Linked DNA regions of Homo sapiens: all the other regions are linked to region 5. Evidence: promoter capture Hi-C in 16 types of primary human blood cells and fetal thymus (Javierre and others, 2016). All regions are on one chromosome and are shown on one strand. The core of a region is centred on a gene start or on the middle of the fragment in contact, and the rest is flanking DNA. Distances in the headings are between cores, read along the strand shown. Region 1 overlaps LINC02235 (long intergenic non-protein coding RNA 2235). Region 2 holds the start of STAU2 (staufen double-stranded RNA binding protein 2). Region 3 holds the start of IMPA1 (inositol monophosphatase 1). Region 4 overlaps ELOC (elongin C). Region 5 holds the start of PEX2 (peroxisomal biogenesis factor 2). Region 6 overlaps RPL7 (ribosomal protein L7). Region 7 holds the start of CHMP4C (charged multivesicular body protein 4C).

What was found. The method cuts DNA at HindIII sites, captures the fragments that hold promoters and counts their contacts. A CHiCAGO score of 5 or more calls a contact.
Region 1: a fragment that was not itself captured here is called in contact with the fragment with the promoter of PEX2 in region 5 in 1 of 17 cell types (non-activated CD4 T cells); the score reaches 7.8 in non-activated CD4 T cells.
Region 2: the fragment with the promoter of STAU2 here is called in contact with the fragment with the promoter of PEX2 in region 5 in 1 of 17 cell types (total B cells); the score reaches 6.5 in total B cells.
Region 3: a contact is called between the fragment with the promoter of IMPA1 here and the fragment with the promoter of PEX2 in region 5, in 4 of 17 cell types (total CD8 T cells, total B cells, non-activated CD4 T cells and 1 more). The highest score is 7.8, in total CD8 T cells.
Region 4: a contact is called between a fragment that was not itself captured here and the fragment with the promoter of PEX2 in region 5, in 1 of 17 cell types (naive CD8 T cells). The highest score is 5.1, in naive CD8 T cells.
Region 6: a fragment that was not itself captured here is called in contact with the fragment with the promoter of PEX2 in region 5 in 1 of 17 cell types (total B cells); the score reaches 5.3 in total B cells.
Region 7: a contact is called between the fragment with the promoter of CHMP4C here and the fragment with the promoter of PEX2 in region 5, in 1 of 17 cell types (non-activated CD4 T cells). The highest score is 8.8, in non-activated CD4 T cells.

What each region holds. Positions count from the first base shown.
Region 1 is chr8:81,846,178-81,849,526 of GRCh38, reverse strand. LINC02235 (long intergenic non-protein coding RNA 2235) reads right to left here. Exons shown (of 8, transcript NR_170320.1): 3 at 420-536; 4 at 8-141. Among named protein-coding and RNA genes, the nearest start is that of LINC02235, 5.2 kb to the right of the region's middle. The HindIII fragment of the contact is 676 bases long and covers 1,197-1,872 here.
Region 2 is chr8:73,745,346-73,748,389 of GRCh38, reverse strand. It overlaps STAU2 (staufen double-stranded RNA binding protein 2), which reads left to right and starts at 1,550. Exons shown (of 15, transcript NM_001164380.2): 1 at 1,550-1,607. RefSeq lists silencers at 1,048-1,337, 1,418-1,507, 1,798-1,977, 2,088-2,147. The HindIII fragment of the contact is 14,890 bases long and covers 1-3,044 here.
Region 3 is chr8:81,684,900-81,687,929 of GRCh38, reverse strand. It overlaps IMPA1 (inositol monophosphatase 1), which reads left to right and starts at 1,605. Exons shown (of 9, transcript NM_005536.4): 1 at 1,605-1,678. RefSeq lists an enhancer at 1,359-1,859. The HindIII fragment of the contact is 6,947 bases long and covers 1-3,030 here.
Region 4 is chr8:73,966,215-73,969,548 of GRCh38, reverse strand. The region is part of intron 1 of ELOC (elongin C); the gene reads left to right. Among named protein-coding and RNA genes, the nearest start is that of ELOC, 4.3 kb to the left of the region's middle. The HindIII fragment of the contact is 3,809 bases long and covers 1-3,334 here.
Region 5 is chr8:76,998,585-77,001,924 of GRCh38, reverse strand. PEX2 (peroxisomal biogenesis factor 2) reads left to right here and starts at 1,847. Exons shown (of 4, transcript NM_000318.3): 1 at 1,847-1,935. RefSeq lists an enhancer at 1,558-1,852. The HindIII fragment of the contact is 1,935 bases long and covers 1-1,876 here.
Region 6 is chr8:73,289,106-73,292,186 of GRCh38, reverse strand. It overlaps RPL7 (ribosomal protein L7), which reads left to right. Exons shown (of 7, transcript NM_000971.4): 4 at 277-414; 5 at 526-635; 6 at 935-1,144; 7 at 1,482-1,945. The coding sequence ends at 1,143. Among named protein-coding and RNA genes, the nearest start is that of RPL7, 3.0 kb to the left of the region's middle. The HindIII fragment of the contact is 3,218 bases long and covers 1-3,022 here.
Region 7 is chr8:81,730,909-81,734,046 of GRCh38, reverse strand. CHMP4C (charged multivesicular body protein 4C) reads right to left here and starts at 1,599. Exons shown (of 5, transcript NM_152284.4): 1 at 1,231-1,599. The coding sequence starts at 1,420. The HindIII fragment of the contact is 11,241 bases long and covers 554-3,138 here.

The DNA of each region.
Region 1 (3,349 bases), core at 285-2,784, 4.8 Mb before region 5:
TCCCTACCTATTGCTGATCATGGAAATTTTTCCCTGCTCTATCCAGTGGAGGCAGGGTAGTTTATTGATCGCTGGGGGTGCTATCTTCATTTGGAACTGGCTGGCAATGTTGTTGCATGATCATATGAAGCTCAATGGTCTCTAGGTGAGAGGAAATGAATTTGGTTAAAAGATCTAATGGGAACTTCAGGGGGTGGATACCTATGCTATCAGGAATGTTTGTTATAGGGAGAAATTAAAACATTCTGCTTAATTGCTACAAAGGGAGTGATTCCAAACATTTGAAAAAAGAAAAACTGCAAAAATATATAAAAATATGGCTATTATTATCCAGCCAAATATATAAAAATATGGCTATTATTATCCAACCTACAATAACTATGCAACAAAAACACCAAGGAAAGTTGGTAGGCATTTACTTATCTTTTGGCTGTCTTCTAAACAGGCACTTCAGGTCTTCCACAGGTTCACAGGTGTAGTGGCTGAAGGAAACTTCAGGTTCCAGGTCTGAGGCTTCAGGTATCACAGACTTGATCCTTGAAAGATGTATCCAATTATTTAAATCCTAATACTTTGACCATGGAAAGCATGGCCAGCACCACTGAAAATGTTCCCTTCCATTTGGGCTGTAGTTGTTGAGCAGGCGATCCCTCCTTCCAAGTTTTAACAAGTATCTTATCTCTTGGCCTGATTTTGGGATGCTGGTTAGCTCCTGGTATGGGGAACCTTTGAGTTCCAAACTTTTGTGAAAGCCTGCTGAAATTGTCCATTAACTAGGTATTTCACTAAACCAGCTGTTTCTGGATCAGTAATTAGATCATTAGTTAAGAATGGCCTTCCGTATAACATTTCATATGGGTTTATGTTAATTTTTGCTCTAGAGGTATTGCAGATCCTTAAGAGGGCTATAGTCAGTAAGCTGACCCAAATTTCTGATGTTTCCTAACATAGCTTACCTAATGCTTGTTCTAGAGTTTGGTTAACCCTTTCTACTTTCCCGAAGAATTGAGTCCTCCATGCTGAATGTAAATAGTATTTGATTCTGAAGGTCTTAGCGACCCCTTTAGTTATTTGGGAGATAAAGGATGGGCCATTATCTCTTTGGAGACTCTGAGGTTACCCAAACTAAGGGACTATTTATTTGTAAGAGAAACTTTATAACCTCAATAGCCTTCTCTGTTCTGGTAGGATAAGCTTCGACCCAACCAGTAAAGGTATCTATCAGGACTAACAAAAACTTGTATCCTCTACAAGCGGGCATTTGGGTGAAGTCTAATTGACAGTGTTCCCCTGGGTAAGTTCCTCTCCTCTGGACTGATTCTATTAGAGGAAGCATTTTGTTTCCTGGACTGTTAAGTGCACACAGTGAGCAGGATTGACAGACCTGCTTAACCACTGAATCTAAGTTAGGCCCAATGAAGAGCCTGTTAACCATGGCCAGGGTGGCATCTCCACTGGGCTGTTTGAGGGAGATTTAGTTTGATTCCATATACCACCCGGATACTTATTTTTGTCCCCCTTGTTCCTTTATTAACTGTTCTTCCTATAGCGTGTATTCAGGATCCATTCAGGAATCATAGAAAGGAAGCAGTGCTAGGATCTGTTGGGATTGCACCCTGAGGGATACGGCTTTAGCTTCTCTATCAGCCCTTCTGTTCCCTTGTGCTATAGGAAGTAAGTCCCTTTGATGCCCCCTACAATGGATTATAGCTACAGCCTTTGGCAGGTGTATTGCTTCCAACAGCTGAAGAATTTCAGGCCCGTGCTTTATTGGGGAGTATTTGCTATTTAGTAGTCCCTTTTCTTTCCAGATTGTAGCATGAGCATGAAACATAAGGAACGCATATTTAGAATCTGGATAGATGTTAAGCTTTTTCCTTTGTCTCAACATTAGTGCTCAGGTAAGAACAATGATTTCAGTATTTTGTGCTGATGTGCCAGGGGGCAGTGGCTGGGCTTCAATAATGGTGTTGTGATTTACCATTGCATATCCAACTCAGCACTCCCCATTTGACACAAAACTACTGCCATCTGTGAACCAGTTATCTTCAGAATCTGGGAGAGGCTAATCTTTTAAATTAGGCCAGCTAATATATGTGTGTACAATGACCTGCTCACAGGAATCATCAGTTATTGGGCCTGTGGGTAGCAATGAAGCTGGATTCAAGGTGTTACAAGTTTTAAGGGTTACATCTGGATTGTCTAGCAGCATGGCCTGGCATATGTTTAACCTTTCCTCCATCATCCACATGTGTCCTTTTATCTCTAAGACTGGCTTTACCTGATGGGGGGTTAGAACTTCCAGTGGTTGGCCCAGGGTGATTTTAGTGGCTTCCTCCACAAACATAGCAGTGGCTATTGCCTGCAGGAAACTTGGTCATCTCGAGGCTGCTCCATCCAACTTCCTTGAAAAGCAGGCAGTTGGTCTGGGTTCTGATCCTAATTTCTAGGCTAGCACTCCCACAGCTACGCCCTTCTCAGCTACATACAAGAAGGGCTTAGTTATGTCTGGGATGCCAAGAGCAGGAGCCTGGTAAGGGCCTATTTTAGCTTGGTGAAGGCTTCTCATTTCTGGGGTCAATTCCGTTAGCTCATTTTCAGGCCTCCTTGTTGCTTCATATACGAGCTTTGCTACAAGCCCCAAATTTGGTACCAATATTCTGCAAAACCCAGCCATTCCCCAGAAAGAACAAAGCTGCGCTTGGTGGCTGTGGGGCAACCACATATGGCTTGCACTCATTCTGGGGATATTTGTCGGGTTCCCGGTGTTAAGACATACCCTAAATATTGGATCCATTGGAGGGTAATCTGAGCCTTCTTTTTGGACACTTCACATCCTCTGTCAGCCAGGAAATTCAACGTTTTTATAGTATTTTGGTCAGAAGCCTCCTGGGTTGGGCTACACACAAGAAGTTCAACCACATACTGGAATATACTTCCATTCTCCAATTGCAGATCCCTCAGATCCCTCTCTACAGATCAGGCTAAGAAATCAGGGCTATCCTGAAAGCCCTGAGGGAGTACTGTCCAAATGTATTGTTTTTTTTTTTTCTGGTATTAGGATTTTCCCATTCAAAGGCAAAAAGGTATTGGGATTCTGGGGCCAGAGGAATAGAGATGAAAGCATCTTTTAGGTCTAGGAGAAACATTTTGCATCCCCTGGCACCTAAGCCAGGAGGGTATATGGATCCACCACCAATGGGTGGACGGGGATAACAGTGTGATAAATTATTCTGAAATCCTGTACTAGCAGGTATTCCCTCAAGGGCTTTAGAATGGTTAAGATGGGGGTGTTTCAGGGAGAATTGCAGGTTTTTAAGAGCTCATGGGTAAGCAATATCTCAACTAT
Region 2 (3,044 bases), core at 301-2,800, 3.3 Mb after region 5:
TAAGGCATGACTGTATTAGAATGCTGACTGGGTGCGTAAGCCGCTAGAAGGAGCACAGCAAATTTAGGGAGGATGCAACATGTTAAATCCGAGGGAACTGGCAGAGGTGAAAAGGGGGGAAAGGAGCATAGGAAAGAGTTCTGGGAGGAAAAATATAGCTGTAGCTAACATTGTACCAGGAGAGGTACTACATACCCGGTCCTATTTAAAGGGCTTCATATGTATTGTCACATTTAAATACGAACTATCTATCACATGTAGTCTCCTCTTGATGCACAGGATAAGTAACATGCCCGTGGTCTCCTCACCAGTTAGCAAGCGGATATCCAGCCTTGGTTATCTGACTCTGGCGCCCTTGCGGTTAACCAGGACACACACTACCTTCCCAGGTGCAGACATGAGATTGGTTTTAGATGATGACTGAAATCACCGGCCTGGGAGACATTTCTCAGTCAGAGAAGTGACACTGGGAAGAAACCCTAGAAATAACGTTGCAAACGAGTAAGTTTGTGAAAACACACTAATAGTTCTATTTCGAAATTTCTTTGTCAGATTATTTTTGGTGCCGGTTACTAAACGAAGTGTTCAGTTTCATTGAGCTTAACTGGGTTGAAGTTATCTAGACAAAAGTAATCCACATCAAAACCAGGACGAATTAAGACGTAATTTCTGTTTTCTGGCACTCTTGCCTCATAAATCTAGGATTCAGGGCATTGTTTTCAATGGTTCTCATTTTTGGCTCCAAGGATTCTTTTTCATGTGACTAATATTTTCGGTAGAAGAGGAGGTCTGGCCACGCCGCGGGTCTTGGCGAGCAGGTGATCACGGATCCCTGGTGTTTGCTGGGCGAGACGGTGAAGCAACCTCCTCCCCGCCCCCTCCCCCGTCTAGAAAGGTGCAAGATCCGCTAAACCGTGCGTTGCACAGCGGCGGCCGGAGCAGACGCGGGATGGTCGCGCGTCCCCTGCACAGCACAGAGGGGCAGCCGGAGAGCCTGGGAAAGGTACGAGCGGGGAATCAGAGCACAGGGTGCGGACCAGAAAGAGCAGACGGTCAGTCGGGCGGGGAAGGAAGTTGCCGAGTTGCAGGTGTGGAAGGGGCTGCCCCAGGCCCACCCTTGGCAGACGAGGGGGCGGGGAGTCGCGCCGGGGACGAGGAGACTGCGGACCGGGCGCGCTCCTTGCGCAGTCGCTCGCCCGCGTGCCCAAGCCCCCCGGGAATGGCCCTCGCCCAGGGGCCCAGCTCGCCGCCGCTAGCCCCGCAGAGCCTGCAGCTGCTGGGGCCCGGCAGCCGCCAGGGGGCGGGAGCTGCGTCGCGAACAATGGCCGCGCTTGGTCGCGGGCCGGCGGGAGGCGGAGTGGAGGTAGAGCCGGTGCCGGGCGCGCGCGCCGGCCGGGCGTGCTGGGGCGCGGGAGCGGCTGCGCAGGCGGGGGCGCGCGGCGCGAGCGCGGGAGGGCGCGGCGGGAGCGCCGGGGAGGCGGGCGGAGGCGGGCGGAGGCGGGGGGCGGGGAGCCCGAGGGGTGGAAGCCGGCGGCGGCCGAGCGGGGTCAGTTCTCTGTAGTGTTTGCCAATGTTGGAGCCGTCTGCAAAGTGTCCCCGGCAAGAAGGTAAATACCCTCATCGGGGGCGTCCGGGAGACCCCGACTTCCGCGCCGCCGGCGAAGAAGGCAGAGGGCGCTGGGGAGCCCTGCAGTTCCGCAGCACGGGGAACCCGGAGAAAAGCAGCCCCCTTCGCGGCCTCCCCTCCCCCGCGCCTTCCCTCCCACATCGGGCTCTCGGGGCAGCAGCGGGGAGGGGAGACCGGCGGGGGAGGGAGGACAGGGAGGCGAAGGAATTGGGGTGGGGGGTGCGTGTGTGGTGGAGGGGGTGGGACGACACAGGTGTCCTGAGGGGAGGAGCCGGGAGGAAGGCGAGGAGGCCGGGCCAAGTGGGGGTGCGGAGGTCGGGGAGACAGGAACGCGGCTGCGGGCGCGGGAGGCTGGGGTTCTAGGGGGCCGGGGTGGTAGCGGCCGGAAGAGAGGACGGCGAGTGCAGCCACGGTGTGGCTGCGAGGGAGAGGGAGCGCCTAGAGTAGGGCAGGGGAGGGCGGCCCGGGGAGGGTCTGCGGGAAATGGGCCTGGGGGCGCTGGAGGCGGAGCGGCGGGGCCGGGGCGCGCCGGAGGGTGGCGGCGGCAGCTATTTCTGTAGAATGGGCTAGTGGTAAAGACGTAACTTGCCGAAATGGGGAGGGTAGGTGGGGCCGAGGGGACAAAATATATCCTATGACAGGCAAGTTCTGCTGTGGCTGTTACGAACTCCTACCGTGATGGCTCGGCTTAAAGGGGTAGTTGGCGGTAGTGACCTTGCCGGGGTGAAGGGAGTTGGGCGAGGAGACAAAGCTCAGTTACGGAATCCGCTGTGTGAGAGCAGGAACTCTAGTCTCTTCGGGGTCGAGCCGGGGGCTGTGGCTTGGGGGCTGGGGGTGCTCCGCAGAGGCCATTGAGAAGCACGCCACTCTGGGATTCTTAGGGAGGCGGTGGGGGTAATGGCCGTGGGATTCTGGAAGTCTTTGGAAATGTGTGTAGAATTTTGCATTTGTGAATAATTTTCTTTGGTAAGGGTCCATATTTGCTGTGATGTCCCCTTACCCCCATCCCCACTCCAAAGGGTTAAGAACTGCTTGAGCAGATAGAGAGGGACCATTCAATTAGGGTAGACCTGGGAATTTACCAAAGGATTTTAAAGTGGGTGGATCCTGCAGAAAGAAAGGCTAGAGATGATCCTTTAAAGATATTTTACTGTTAATTGAAAACGTTTTTTATTTAATGTTTGCTTTCACAATTTTGGTGAACTTTTGCTGAGCATTACTTGGCTTCTGATGCATCCTGTGTTTCAGACCAGCATCGTGAATACTTGAAATCAAAATTGTGATGGACAGGCAGGGTGATAGTAACCTTGGAGGAGAAAAGATTTCAACATTTCTCCAGGATATTTCTTCCCCGTCCTTGCTTTCTTTAGATGATTCAAGTACACTGTTGTGAACTCAGCTGCGGTGGAAAAATCTT
Region 3 (3,030 bases), core at 356-2,855, 4.7 Mb before region 5:
CATATAATTTCTTCGTGGTCAGATTTTACATAGAAACACAGGGAGAATGCTAGAGTAATATCTATCTATCTATCTATCTATCTATCTATCTATCTATCTATCTATCTATCTATATCTCTCTCTCTATATATATATATTTTTTTTTTGAGACGGAGGCTCCCTCTGTCGCCCAGGCTGGAGTGCAGTGGCGCGATCTCCACTCACTGGAAGCTCCACCTCCCAGGTTCATGCCATTCTCCTGCCTCAGCCTCCCGAGTAGCTGGGACTGCAGGTGCCAGCCACCACACCCGGCTAATTTTTTTGTGTTTTTAATAGAAACGGGGCTTCACCGTGTTAGCCAGGACGGTCTCGATCTCCTGACCTCGTGATCCGCCTGCCTTGGCCTCCCAAAGTGGTGGGATTACAGGCGTGAGCCACCTTGCCTGGCCTAGAGTAGTATTTTTATGTTTTATGGCTGGCTTTATAAAAAAGGGGTCCTGATTTCTGGGACCTGATTTGGGAAAGAGGAATTCTAGCTTCTATGACTAGTCTGGGGAAGAATGTGGGACCAGAGACAGGAGACCAAAAGGAGTCAGAGGAAAATTTTTCCTTCTAAGGCTGCTTCTGAGGCCTTCATTGTGGGGTATCATTTTCTGAACCCCAAAACTTTGAACTCAGTGTGTTTCACTCTCTGCTCTTGCTGTGTGACCTGAGGACAAATCACTTAACTACTCTGAGCCTCAGTTTCCTCATCTGTCTGACAAAGCTAATCATACCTTTTTCAAGAAACTGTTAAAACTTTAAGGAAAATAATGCATATAAAAACACATTTCGGCCAGGCGTGGTGGCTCATGCCTGTAATCTTTGGGAGGCCGAGGTAGGCGGATCACTTGAGTCCAGGAGTTTGAGACCAGCCTGAGCAACATGGTGAAACCCCGTCTCTACAAGATACAAAAATTAGCCGGGCGTTGTGGCAGGCGTCTGTAATCCCAGCTACTCAGGAGGCTGAGGCATGAGAATCGCTTGAATCCAAGAGGCGGACGTTGCAGTGAGCCGAGATCGCGCCATTGCACTTCAGCCCGGGCGACAAAAGTGAAATTCCGTCTCAAAAAAACAAAACAATAAAACCCCACACAATTGCTTGAAGCATAGTAAGTCCTCAATAAATAGTATGTAAGTAAATTATCAAGAATTGGGCAGTTGGTTCTGGTTATCAGTTTATTTTTTTTTAATCTAGTATAGGTTTACCAGCTTTAGGTTAGCACCTAAAAGCTGCATAATCGGAATCATATCTGCAATCTGGGTTTTGTCAAAATAGTACTATAGAATAAATGGGAGAAAGAAGAAAGCAAGCTAAATGGGAAACCGTGAATGAATGGAGGACGAAAGAAGAAAAAGGCAAAGTAAAGAGAGAAGTAATGTTTAAAAACTGAGAGATGAAAAGACAAGCAGGAGAAAAGAACCAGAAGCTAGAATGAAGAGGCAGTATCCCATGCTCCAGCGCGGGTCAGGACCCGGCCCGGCCTGGCAGAGGCTCGCAGGGCGCAGCTCGGGGCGGGGCCCAGCAAAGCAACCACGCCCCCTCAGGAATGGAGTTTTTAAGGGCGGAACTTCCTGTTGCGAGTAGCCCCTCTACCTCCGGAAGAGACGAGTGCGGTAACACCGTTCACAGAGCTAGCCGGACGTCCTCCGACTCAAGGTGAGACCGTTATTTTCCTCACCGCACCCTCCGGGTTCAGCGGGCGCTGTGGGTTTCCAGGGAGGCCCCTTCCCTCCTCAGGAGCGGGCGCGAGCGCCGTGCGCGGTCGGCGCCTAGGGTGGAGGCAGCCTCTGGGTGACCCCTGCCTGCTGCGTTATCCGGAGCTGCCCTGGGCGACCGGGAACAGTTCCGGCATTGGAGTAGCGGTTCGCTCACGCGACCTCACTTAACCTCTGTGGCGGCTTCTGTGGAATAATTGCCCCTTTTTATGTCCCCAACTCCGAAAAGCTCCTAGAAACTTGGTGCATCCCCAGGCCCAGGTAGTCACTCTAAGTGATGGGGCAGCGCCCAGGTCCTGTGCTGCCCGCAGTCGCGGTGCTGGGACAGGTGGCAAAAAGGAAGGTGGCCTGGCTCCTACGCTGGAAGGCTGTGACCAGGACAGAAACAGCAGGAAACAGTTCAGGTGTTTATGGCTTTGGGAAAATGAAAGTGAGTAAACTACGGACCCTGCCCATCAATAAATGTACTGTGATTTATATATATATAACTATTCATATATTATATATAACTATATATAAAAATATATATAAAATGTACTTATATACTTTATATATAGTACATAAATATACTTATGTATAGTATATATACTTATATATAGTACATAAATATACTTCTGTATACTTATATATAGTACATAAATATACTTACGTATATATACTTATATATAGTACAGAAATATACTTACGTATATATACTTATATATAGTACAGAAATATACTTAGGTATATATACTTATATATAGTACAGAAATATACTTAGGTATACATACTTATATATAGTACCTAAATATACTTAGGTATATATACTTATATATAGTACATAAATATACTTACATATATACTTACATATAGTATATAAATATACTATATGTATAGTACATAAATATACTATGTATAGTATATATACTATATATACTATATATAGTATCTATACTTATGTATAGTATATATAGTATCTAAATATACTTATGTATAGTATATATAGTATCTAAATATACTTATGTATAGTATATATAGTATCTAAATATACTTATGTATAGTATATATACTATATATAGTATCTAAATATACTTAATGTATACTATATATAGTATCTAAATATACTTATTTATAGTATATATATCTAAATATACTTATGTATAGTATATATACTATATATAGTATCTAAATATACTTACGTATAGTATATATAGTATCTAAATATACTTATGTATAGTATATATACTATACATAGTATCTAAATATACTTATGTATAGTATATATACTATACATAGTATCTAAATATACTTATG
Region 4 (3,334 bases), core at 607-3,106, 3.0 Mb after region 5:
CTTGACCGATTTCGAGGAATACCAAAAAGGCCAGTGTGACTGGAGCATAGTGAAGGAAGAGTGGTGGGAGACAAGATCAGAGTGGTAAGTAGGGAAGTAAATCAAATGTCCAGTTGAGACATGGTAGCTTGAACTAGAAGTGTGGAGTTGAAAGTGAGTAGTAGTCTGATTTGGAATGTAATTTGAAGCTGGAGCCAAATGGGTTTTGCTTTCTTCCCAGGAACAAAACGAACAAAAAAAAATGTTTTTTGAATAACGAATCACTTTTCCAAGAATCTGGGTAAACAGCAGTGCATGTACTGAAATGGGGAAGACAAAGGAAGGGAGTATCAGTTTCTGAGATTGATAAATCAGAAGTTCTATATGGGACTTACTGAGTTCGATAACTAGTAGACACCTGAGAATATGTGCAGTAGAAAAGTTGGATATTCACGACTGGCACTCGGGAGAAAAACTAGGGAGATGATCTGGGAGTCATATTTTATAGATGATAACCTCTGGTCTGGAGGACATCAAATAGGGAATGTTAAATGGAGAAGAAGGCAGATGACTGGGAGCACTCCAGTTAGAAGAGGAGCATACAGTAATGGAAGCAGAAAAGCCAGGAGTGTGTGACATCTGGAGTACTAAGGAAGAAATGTTTCAAGATGGAGGGAGTAGGCAATTGTATAAAACACTGCTAAATGAGGATTAAAAATTGACCATGTGACCAAGTGAAGTAGTTGAAATTTGATAAGAACCCCTAAAATGGACTGGTGGGCCAAAGGCTGATCAGAATAGGTTAAGAAGTGGATGGGAATAATGGCCATAGCAGAGTCTTTAGTTAGGTGACGGAATATCAATCATTGCTTAAGTGGAAAGGTTGACCTTTAGTAGGAAGGACAGTTTTTATTCAATATTTGAAATAGCAGGGTGGACAAAATATATAAACACAGGAATGCTGAAGATGGAGAGACAAGGCAACTGAAGTGATTGGTTTCAGTTTATTTTTAGCCTATCTTTCGAAAGGTTCTGTTAATATGTAGAATCTATGATTAATACACATTATATGTTGGGAATATCTGCTTATAATTTTAAAACTGAAACAAGGGAGTTTGGAGATATTATTTGAGAGAATAATTAGGTCGTTTGCAGGGGTGAGGCAGACAGACTCAGAACATGCAGCGCTCTGCAGCCCTTAAGTTCTGTGTTGTGGGAGGGCGACTCTGGGTAATAAACATGGGAAGCTGAGTTATAGGTGGTTGTCTGGGAAGGATGAATTTCAGATGGATTTAGTCATGAAATAGAGCCAGAATGGACTTTTGGACATAATTGAGTCCAATTGTCTCATTTGGAAGATGAAGAAACAGAAGTCCTATCACTTAATTTATCCGAGTCTCAAGATAGAAATGTCAAACAGAGTAGAAATTCAGATGTGGAGATGGATTCGGGTCTATATAAGGTAGCCATTGATTTTCATTCAACTGGGCTAGTTCTTAATTTATGATAAGAGATGAAAGCTGTGGACCTTCTCATGCCTCTTACTGTGAACTGCACATAGGCACAAAATTGTGCTTACAGATTGAAGGGTTTGGGATTCTACTGCTTATCTGTGAACCTCGAGGAATGGGGGACTGCAGATTAAGAACCTGCTAGAACAGAGTCAACAAGTTAGAACCACAGGCCACATCTGGCCCACTACCTGCTTTTATACTACCCGCAAGCTAAGAATGGTTTTTAAATGTTTTAATAGTTGGACAGAAATTCAAAGTAAATGTGTATTTTATAACATGAAAATTATAGGCCGGATGCAGTGGCTCACGCCTGTAATCCCAGCACTTTGGGAGGCCAAGGTGAGCGGATTACCAGAGGTCAGGAGTTTGAGACCAGCCTGACCAAATGGTGAAACCCTGTCTCCACTAAAAATACAAATAATTAGCTAGGCGTGGTGATGCATGCCTGTAATCCCAGCTACTCGGGAGGCTGAGGCAGGAGAATCACTTGAACCTGGGAGGTGGAGGTTGCAGTGAGCCAAGGTTGCACCACTGCACTCCAGCCTGGGTAACAAGAGCGAAACTCTGTCTCAAAAAAAAAAAAAAAAGAAAAGAAAATTATATAAAATGTACCCTTTTTTGCCCATAAATAAAGTTTTGTTGGATCATAGCCACACTCAATCGTTTACATCTTGTCTGTGGCTGCTTTTGCACTCCAGTGGCAGAGTTGGAGTAGTTGTAACAGAGACCTTACAGCCTGCTAAGCAAAAAATACTTATTTTTTGGCCCTTTAGTGTGTCAACCCCCACACTAAAAATGTAAATTCCAGGATACGGGTGGAGGAGAGGTTGTTGGATTTATTTTGTCCACAGATTCCTCCCAAGCATGTAGAGCAGTGCCTGGCACATGGTAGGCCCTTGATACATATAGAAATGAACCTCTGGTTCAAAAATAGAATAATGGCCAGTGTTTTAATGTGTGCTAGGCAGTATTCTGAGTGCTTTTATATGTAAAGCCATTTATTCTTCAGAACAGCTCTGTGAGGTAGATGCTGTATTATCCTCATTTTACCGTTGAAGAAACCAGGCAAGGAAAGATTAGGTTAGTTCTCCCGCAGTGACATAGCTAGGAGTTGACTGATTTTAAGCACTACATTATATGGAGGGCTGAAATCAAGTCTTCAGAAATGATAGCAGCAAAAGGATAGATAGGAGTGATGAAACAGGATAATGTAGCAAAGGAGGAATACATTCTTATGTAGTGTTGTTTACTATTATATTAGGCATTCAAGACCCATGTCTTGGGCTATGTGTGGTGGCTCACACCTATAATCGCAGCACTTTGGGAGGTCAAGGCAGGAGGTTTACTTGAGCTCAGAAGTTGGAGACCAGCTTGGGCAACACAGGGAGACCTCCACTTAAAAAAAAAAAAAAAAGAAATTTTAGCCGGGCTTGGTAGCAGGCTACTCAGGAAGAAGGTGGGAGAATCCTTTGAGCTCTGAAGGTTGAGGCTGCACTGAGCCAGGATTGCACAACTGTACTTCAACTTGGGTGACAGAGCAAGAACTTGTCTCAAAAAAAAAAAAAAAGACCCATGGCTTGGTCAGTATCTCAGTATGTGTTCCTTATGTGTCACTGTTCCCCTCTTTGATAAAGTCCAACTTCCCAAACTCTCACCTCTTTTCCTATCTTCCTACACTCTCTTCTTGACTCACTCATCTGGCCAGACTGTTCTCCTTGCCATTCTCCCTCCATAAAAAGCTGTTCCTTCAAATATCTGTGACTCATTCCCTTGCTTTCTTCAGATCTCTGTTAATGTTAGTTCTTCACCATGCCGTATGTATTATTTTGTTTTGGTTTTCT
Region 5 (3,340 bases), core at 598-3,097:
GGTTAAACATTAAAATCTAGAACTTATTTTAAACAATTTCAACAGAATTTTAACTGTTGCATGTTTCCCCGCATTCTTAATGAGATTCATTAAATATGATTCAAGTTTCTTGATATCTTTATTATTTTCATTCGCTACTGTGTGATGTTCACATGACATACATAAGGCTCTATGAACCAGAATTTGCTTTCTGAAAATGTCCTCTATGTCAATCAAGTCTTTGTGTGTATTTTCCCCCGTCCCTCTCAAAAATTAAGTGAAGCACAGCACATCTGTAGGCTACCTGAGAGGTGCAGCGTGGTTGGTTTTCTTCACAGTTGCTAAACGAAAGGCCTACTCTTCTTCAGTGAGATTTTTTTACTCTCTAGAACAGCAGTATCCATAGAAATATAATGGAAGCCACGTAATTTAAAATTTTCCAAAACATTCTCATTTTGACATGTAAGCAATATAAAATTAATGAAATACTTTACATTCTTTTTCTTTTCAGACCACGCTTTAGAAATCTGGTGCATGTTCTACACTTAGAGCAGACCTCAGTTCAGACTAGCCACTTTTCAGGTGGCCAGTGACTACTACACTGGACAGTTGCAGCTCTAGAAAATCCACTCCCAAACCCCTAAGTGAACTACATACTCTATCAATTTGTAGCTTCTACTCTATCTCATTTGTACCATTGTTTCACAATTTGGATAGCATTAGAGTTAATAAATTTTATTTTAGCAACTCTGCTCCATGGGTAGTTTCTGAAATAAAAATACAAGCAAAAAAAAAAAAACTTTCCTAATAACACTGGTTCTACAGTATAAGCTCTCCCTCGAATGTCTAATAGAGCTTTCGTAGAAGTGAGTGTTCCTTGTAGGAACGGTGAGTCGAGACTGGAGGTAAGAACTAAGACGTTCTTAAACCCTACTACGTGCTGGAATCCTGAAGTGCCTGCCATCATTCAAACTTAAGCACTAACTCTCTAGAGAGACACTGCCATTCATACCACAGAACGAGAAGGCAGTGGCGATCCTCAACGGCTACATGTCACTGCCTGGTGAGCACTCTTCCCTCAGACCCCATTCCCAGAAGCTCTGCCTCGATTCCCCAGGGGTAGGCGAGCTGGCTGCCCGAATTCCTAAGCGTTACCGGGGAGATGTGAGGGCCTCCGGGGGCGGGAAACCTCAGGCCAGGCGCGCGCTGGCCCGCTCTACGGGGTCTCTCGGGAGCGCTTTGCAGGGCGGATGACTGACGGGCCAGCTACCTGCCTTCCTGAGCCTGCAGAGATAAACAGCCTATCCTCCCTGTGCACACAGGCCCCGAGGGCGGGCAGGTCTCCAAGCGCAGCACAACTGCCCCAGGCCCGACGCAGCCACCTGCCCGAGGGCTCCCTCCCCACCAGGCCATCCCTCAGCCGGTCCTCCTCCGACAGCGAACAAGGAACCCCGGAGGCGCGGAGGCGTCTCGCCGCCACCCGGCGGCGCCTGCCAGAGGCCCTTCGCGATGTCCGCAAGCAGAGAAAGCCCTGCCCTCCCAAGCCCCGGCTTCCCCTAGGCCCCTCGACACTTGTAGTGTCCTCACTTGCGGCCCCTGACCCGGGGCTGACCGGTTCGTGACTCTCCTGCCAATCAGAGACAGAGTTCTTCCGGCCAACCGGCCAATCACCGCGCGCGGGTGTCCGCTTCGGCTTTTCGGCCCTTCGGCTCTTCGGCTTGTCGGCGTTCGCGGTTGTTTGGCCATCCAGTGCCTTCAGCAGCGCCGCTAAAGCGCAGTTCTCGTTGGTGTAACTTTTTCTTTTTTTTTTCAGCCACTTCCGGCTCCTGCGTCGCTCCGGAAGCCTGCGAGTTCCGGAAGCCTTGGTAATCCAGATTCGGCTAGGAAAAGACAAGCTTTCCAGAGAATGTTTCAGAGAAAGTTACGTGGAGCGTGGGCGTTTCGCAGACTCCTAAGGTCAGTGTCTGCCCTAGAGAGCCGGAGTGCAAACCCGAGGTCTTGTTTTCAGCTGGGAGGTCGTGGAGTTTCACGACCTTGTAATTGTCGCCGTTTGCTTTTTTTTCCCTGTTTATTGGCTTCCTGTCTCCCTGGAAAAGGCAAATCAAAGCTGCTGAATTTTGGGAAAGGCAGTGAAGCAAACCTAAACTCCTAAAGATGTTTTTAGGATCGCGGCATTAAAAATAAACACACACACAGCTGCAGTTGAGCCCCTCTGCATTCCACGTAGTAACTTAAGAGACGAACTTCGAAATCTTTTTCTCTCATTTGGCGGTCGTGAAGATATTTACCTCTTATAAACGGCTTTATAAAGAATTGAGGATCCAAACTTTACTTAATATCTGAAAGTTCATGTAAAGTGTTATATGTAGTACAAAAAATTTGAGTGCTTAGTTTTCTAACACTGTTGAAAGCGCACGTAAATGCAGTTTGGTTTTCTTATGGAGGAAGAGATAATGAAAAGTTTCTGATAAAATTGCTTGCGATAAATTAGTTATATTTCACGTTGACTTTTGATAAGAAATCTGAATGTGAGAATTGTTAACATTTTTTCCTGGGTTCTTAAATTAAAAATCGTTGTTTGTTTATTTATTGAGGTACCATTTTCCAAATTTCCCACATTTAGTGAAAGGGCTTTTGGCAAAATGAGCAAGCTGTTGAACGTTCAAGTCTAACACATTCTGTTAAACTTCCGTGATGCCCCTCGGAAATATTTTATCTTGACGTTTCGGACAATTAAATGATACTTGGGCGCTCACAACACCGCAGCTTGTAGTCTAAACACCTTCCCCTAAAGTGTTACCTTTACTTAATCCTGAACAGAATGAACTTGGGGTGGCTCTTTTAACTTATCTGATCTCACCTATATTATCAATTACTTGTTTCCAGAAAGATTACAGTTGAGTGATCTTGAGCCAGAAAGAGATTTGAAAGAATTATTTACAGAGTCAAAAAAAAAAACCCTTCATATTTTTTTCTTAAAAAAAAAAATAGAAGTAACAGGACATAGAGCGAATACTAGACTAGTAGACTGAAGAGTATTAGACTAAATCAAGACAGTTGGATTCTAGTCCTGACTCTAGTTGCCTTTGTACAATTTTACCTCTTGGCCGTATTCTCCTTATTTTTAGAAACTAGTGTTAGTACTCAAGCTGGGGTTTTAAAACTGTTCCATAGGAGAACTTGTGTAGAAATTTTCTGGAGCCGTGCAGGGAGAGACAAAGCAAGCCCACCCTCAGGTTTATTTTAACAAGAGCAGCCATTTAGGTGTTCCGCTTGAATAACAAGGTTCTTGTTAAGAAGATTAAATTTATGTCTTAAACGAGATGATCTGCCTTTTCTTCTAGCATTAAAATTCTGGTTT
Region 6 (3,081 bases), core at 164-2,663, 3.7 Mb after region 5:
TTCACATTACTTCTGGGAGCCCTGATTCTGAAACACCGGAGTAACAATATTTTAGGGGAAGCTAGAACAAGGAGGGTGCTGATCACTAATGGTTTAGTTGCAAGCCATGTTCCCCAAGCTCCTATCCCTTCTCTTAATAGAATACAGAAATTCAGTGTGTAACATGAGAGGATTCCTATCTGTTTAGGTAGGATTCGATATTCAAAACTATAATGGTTAGTATTAATAAAAATTTCGATGAAAGGCAAATGCATTTCTGGTCCGTTTTCACCACAGTATCAATGGAGTGAGCCCAAAGGTTCGAAAGGTGTTGCAGCTTCTTCGCCTTCGTCAAATCTTCAATGGAACCTTTGTGAAGCTCAACAAGGCTTCGATTAACATGCTGAGGATTGTAGAGCCATATATTGCATGGGGGTAAGTCTCTTTTCTCCTTTGATTTCTATTTGATAAATTGGTTATGTAGCAACATGAATTTTAGATGTTTTAACAGTGGTCACCTTATTTATGTTTGCTTTTTCACTTCAGGTACCCCAATCTGAAGTCAGTAAATGAACTAATCTACAAGCGTGGTTATGGCAAAATCAATAAGAAGCGAATTGCTTTGACAGATAACGCTTTGATTGCTCGATCTCTTGGTAGGTTCTATTTGGGGGAAAATTTGGTATTAGACCATGCGATAATTTCTTACCCTCTTGTGGCCGTACATTTCTCACTATTGTGAATCTTCATGTGTTCCCTATGATTCTTGATTTAGCTTAAAAGAAAACGTAAGACATGGTTTCATTAGCTTGAACCTTATCTTTGTAAAGCCATGCATTTACCTTGTTTATTCCTGGTTATGTTTTCATCTCACAGCCTATTCAAAAAGATTTTGAATAATTATTTCAAAACTTTTTGCAACTTTAATAATCTTAAATAACCTTAAAATATTTAGGTAAATACGGCATCATCTGCATGGAGGATTTGATTCATGAGATCTATACTGTTGGAAAACGCTTCAAAGAGGCAAATAACTTCCTGTGGCCCTTCAAATTGTCTTCTCCACGAGGTGGAATGAAGAAAAAGACCACCCATTTTGTAGAAGGTGGAGATGCTGGCAACAGGGAGGACCAGATCAACAGGCTTATTAGAAGAATGAACTAAGGTGAGAGACCTCATCCTGAGAAAGGTTGAGTTAATGTTAGAGTATAAGTGGTGGTAATCTTGAATACTTTTCCCATTAAATATTGATGGGGGTTTGAATTTTAATCAGTGCTTTTGTGGGGAGTGGGGGTCAACTATCTTAATGATTACAGTTGGTTTGTTTACTGCTTTTGAGGACCTTTCTGGAGGAAAGGAAAAGCCTGTTTTGGGGAGTCTTTAAAGATGGAAATTGGGTGGTCTTAAAAATGTAAACTCAATCATTACTTTATAACTGCCTAGTTTATGTTAATTGTTAGCTGCCTAAAGTGTTTTCTAATGGTTTTCTTTTTTCCTTTCAGGTGTCTACCATGATTATTTTTCTAAGCTGGTTGGTTAATAAACAGTACCTGCTCTCAAATTGAAATATATTGTTGTATTTGTGATTTGTTGTTGTTGTTGTTAGCCTGCCTCTGTCTTCCCTTAACTACTGTGGCAAGTGTGGTGTGTGATAAAATTAAGCCAAATCAACAGCCCATTTCGTGCAAAATCAGGGTCGAGTCTGTGTGAAAGACATCTCTTGGGTTTTTAAAAGGCTTTTCTATACAAAAGATTTTAATTTTTTGTTTTTTAACTGTGCTGAGTGATTCGAAATGGGTTTATTCTAAGAAAGCCTGTTTCACAAGCATTTGTACATGATTTGTCGGTAAGGTAATCCAACTTTGGTTTATGGAAAAAATTGAATTTAGTTGCTAAAATTTATTTCTCGGGCCTTCGCTTGTTTATAAACTGCCATGTAAATGTGTTGTTTTCCTTTTGCATTCCATTTTTGTGTTCTTGTTTTGCATCTTTTGCCATACTTACGTGAGTTACTAATAATTGTTACATACTGTGGGTATTATGAAGGAAGGCATGAAATTTGTGCCCAGGGATGCAAATTATTTCAGAGCATCTGATGAAATTAATGGGCAAAAACTTCAAAGGTTTTTTTGTAAATAACATTCCTTTATACTTCATGTATTGTTTCACCTAGACTAGTGAACAATGTAGAGTGTAACATGAAGTACATAGAATGAGAGTAAAAATGTTTGTGGTCCTCATTTAGTTGTCAAAGTTCTGACACACTGAAACAGCTCCCTTAGTAATTATTTTGGTACTACTGCTCCACAGTCATTTATTGCTTTTTAATATTCGAAAGTTGCTAGACAAATAGAATTTCTTTGAGTTCTTTGTTCCTGGTTTTGGGACCTATTTCTCTGGCTTAGTAAGTTTGTTTAGGGTCAGTGAATTTTGGAGAGAAATCAAGATGATCGTTTATAAAAATCATTTTACATATTTATGATTGTATCAGTGTTTTGCTAGATGTTTTTTGTCTTAGCAGTTGGGTCAATATTTTGAAATAGTACATGGATATCTAGGTAGAGCCAAAGAGTTTATTTTTTAATTTTCCTTTGTAGAGATGAGATCCACACCAGCCTGTATTCCCCAGCATGTTACTGAACTCCTGGCCTCAAGCAATCCTACTGCCTCAGTCCCCTGAATAGTTGGGATTACAGGCATGACCCACTGCCTCCAGAGGGTTTTTAAGTTATAAATTCAGTTTTGTCTTACTGCTTTGGTAGATAGAGAGTACAGTTCCCAGTGTTAGCACATCCAGTGTCATGAAGGGTAGTTGTGCCTCAGAAGATGTCAGAGCCTGTTTGGCTTCCAGGTTTTAGAGGAATAGTGAGGGCCATCAGTGGCCTCTGCAGGGTCAGAATTAAGACTAATTATGGAATGAAGTTGTACAGATGGTGTATTGCTTGCTTAATCTAGGTGCAGGTGGGTGGGTGCATGAAATGTGGGAAGTCTTCATTGGGATAGGAATAAGCACTTTATATACAGAGAGATACTTAGCAAAGCTTTTTTTAAAAAAAAATATATAAATATATAGCCCATGCAGACACATATTGTAAGTGTGGC
Region 7 (3,138 bases), core at 350-2,849, 4.7 Mb before region 5:
AGTTATATGCAATAAAACAGCCTTCTTATTGTTGGTGGTAAGTGGGCATAAATGTAGCTGGCACACTTTTACAGAAAGAGGCAGAGTTCTCAAGTTCATCTCCTTGAGACTTCATTCCTTTCCTGCATTAAACAATGGCAGCATCCTGTAGAGTGAGCCAAATCTTCCCAAGGCTTCATTATGACTAAAGAAGCCCAACTTGAGGGTGCAAATGTTTGGGTTTGGTGGTAAGCAGAGTCCGATATTGCCACTTCCTTTTCTGGGTCTGCCATGAACCCGGTGTTACAAGAGCAAATCACTTCAACTTCTCACTGAGTTTTTATCTGTGCCACAGGTGCTGTTTAGAGGTATTCCAATAGAAGGAGCAGTATACTGAAGAAATCAGTTAACTCTGGCAAAGAACAGGTGTTCAAGGTGCAACAGGAACACCAAGAATCATTACTGACTCAAAGTCTCTTGTGTGTGCCAAAAGTCAGTGATAGGAAATTTAATAATTAATTCCTCTACCTTTTTTTTTTTTAAGACTTCAACTGCCGAACATCCAGCTAAAGCTTTCCACAGCTGAGGAGCAAGGTAGACCACAACGTACTAGAATATCCTTTTCTGAAGATTTACGTGCAAGTTAAAATGTGTAATTTAATATACAAACATACAGCAGAAAACTTCATGGTTAGTGTTGGAGTCAGCAAGGCTGGCCTAGAAAAAGCTGGACCAGGAGCAAAATTTACAGGGGTGCGAAAACACTCAGTAATCAAGACAAATAATATTTTAATGCAATATTTTTAAAATTCAAAATTAATATTAAAAAATCCACGATGAACAAATCATCACATTATAAAAAATAATTTTAAATAAAGATGTGCTGCACATAACAACATAAGAGCTAGAGGCAAATGAAAAAAATCAATACCAATCTTGTCTTTATTTAAAATTTTGATATTTTCTTCATCATTTCTTTTTTGGCATTGGTTCTGAGTCCTTTAGGTATTGCATTAAAGTATTGTTCATCTTGATTACTGAGATTTTTGGCGGCCCCTTACATTTTGCCATCAGTGCCAGTGTCTAGCTCAACTCACCCTAGTCAGTGCCCTAAGAGTCAGTACCAGTTCCTAGAAAAGACTGCAGGAGCAAACCTGGCCACCTGGGGACCTCAGTGGTGTGGGCCGATTGTCCCCAAGGGAAAGGCTAGAGGCAGATGGGCTCCCGCCTGTGGGCCAGACCCCAGCCTACCTCGCTTATTCTGCGTGCCGTGCTTCTTGGCCAGGGCGATTTCTCTCTGGATTCGATTTTCCAGGTACTCTTGTTTCTTGCCCAGCATCTCCTCAGTCTCCCGAAGTCGGACCAGGGCCTCCTGGGGACTGGGAGCGGCTCGGCTCTTAGAAGAGCCGCCCCCTTTAAAGAACTTGCCCAACTTGCTCATTGCTGTGGAGTTCGGAGGGCCAGCGATCCCGGGGGCCTCTCGGGAGCTCCCCGGGGCCGCGCCGAGGGGACAGGTGAGCAAGGCAGTCCTCTCGGGGACCCAGACCGGAAAGGCGGCCCTCCTGGGAATCAACAAGTCGTCCTGGACAGGTGACACACACTCCAGGGCATTTCCTGGCTGCCAGTTCGGCCCCGCCCCGCTGCACAGCGGCTGGGCGGGGAGGCCACCGCTGGGACGTCGGCTGGCCGGCGCCACCCGGCCCTCTGGGAGTTGAGCGAGAGCAGAGAAAAGTTGAAAAGACCGACAAAGACTGTGGGAAGTTGGCTTTTATCCACACTAGGGACGGTCCCAGGAACGAGGAACTAGTTTGTGAATGGCTCAAAGAAAAGCAAACCGATGTCCAGGGGTCTTGTGCAGGACCTGAAAGTGTAAGTGCGCAAGACTGGATATGCAAAATGCTTTATTCCATGCGTGTCTTTTGTGTGTACGTGAGCATAGTGTTCCTGTATTCAGGCCTCTGTTCTTGTGAATAAGAATATTCAGATCTTTTCCTCTAAGTGTATGTCATGTAGGTATGAGTGTGTGGACACAAAGGCTTCCAGGATATTTGTCTGCCACTAGGATGCAGGTGTGTGGGCAAGCTCGGAGCAGCTGCTGCTACTGGGCTTGTTTCTGCATTTGGTAGTCCGGGCAGGTTGATGTGTGCCTGGATGCTAGTTGGCACAGTGTAGATTCTAGATCATCCTTACAGGACTTGAAGTGGGTGAAAGATGGTGGCCATCTCTTTTCCTAATGTCAGGACTTCTGGAGTGTGTTGGTGGTTGGATTCAACTCTATAACTAGGAATCCGAAGTTTTCTGAATGATCCTCAGTGTATCAAAAACCTTAAATGGGGCTGCCCTGGTGTTTGGCTGTATGTCAAATGCTATTACATAGATACTTAAGTAACAAAAAGTAGAGAATATCCTGGAGAAGAGAAACATTCTTTTGTTCATGCTCACTATCTCAGCCCATCTATTAGATCTGCTGGCAAATAATTTAGTAAGATGAAAGGACAGCCATATGTAATGCTTATAGATGATGCAATACTGCTGCAAACCTGTGTCAAGCACACTACAAAGAAGTGGAATTATCTGTGTTTTACTCTTCAACGATTGCCATGTGCTCTGCATAATATAGCCGTATTTGAGCAACGTTACCCAACATTACCAAAACCTATTTTTGATTGTTAGCCAGCCACTGTTTAAGAGAAAAAAAAAAAAAAAAAACACCCATTACTCTGACAAATTCACCTTGATACCCAAGATCAATAACACAATTTTGTCTGCAAGCATACAAACACAAAGCAGCAAGTTAATCTATTTATCCAACATTGGCATAGATAGCATAAAATTTTGCCAAAGAAATTGAACACTTCCATAGGAGGCTTACAGTAAGCATCTTCTAACACACAAATATGTGAACTTATCATTTCACAGTAACTGCAGCCAGCCACCTCCTATCATTTCCTGGCTGGCCATGTAAAGCATGTATGGTCTATAACACACATTTTGCTCTAATTTCATGTATAAGTTGTCGTAAGTATTGTTTTTCTTTATTATCTAAATATTTCATGAATAAGTTTTGGAGTGTATTTTCTTGATTAGATTTTTAAGGCCCTTGAGAGTTGAGAAGTAGCACATATTCTGCTATTGTTCCCGTTGCTTTTCAGTTTAACT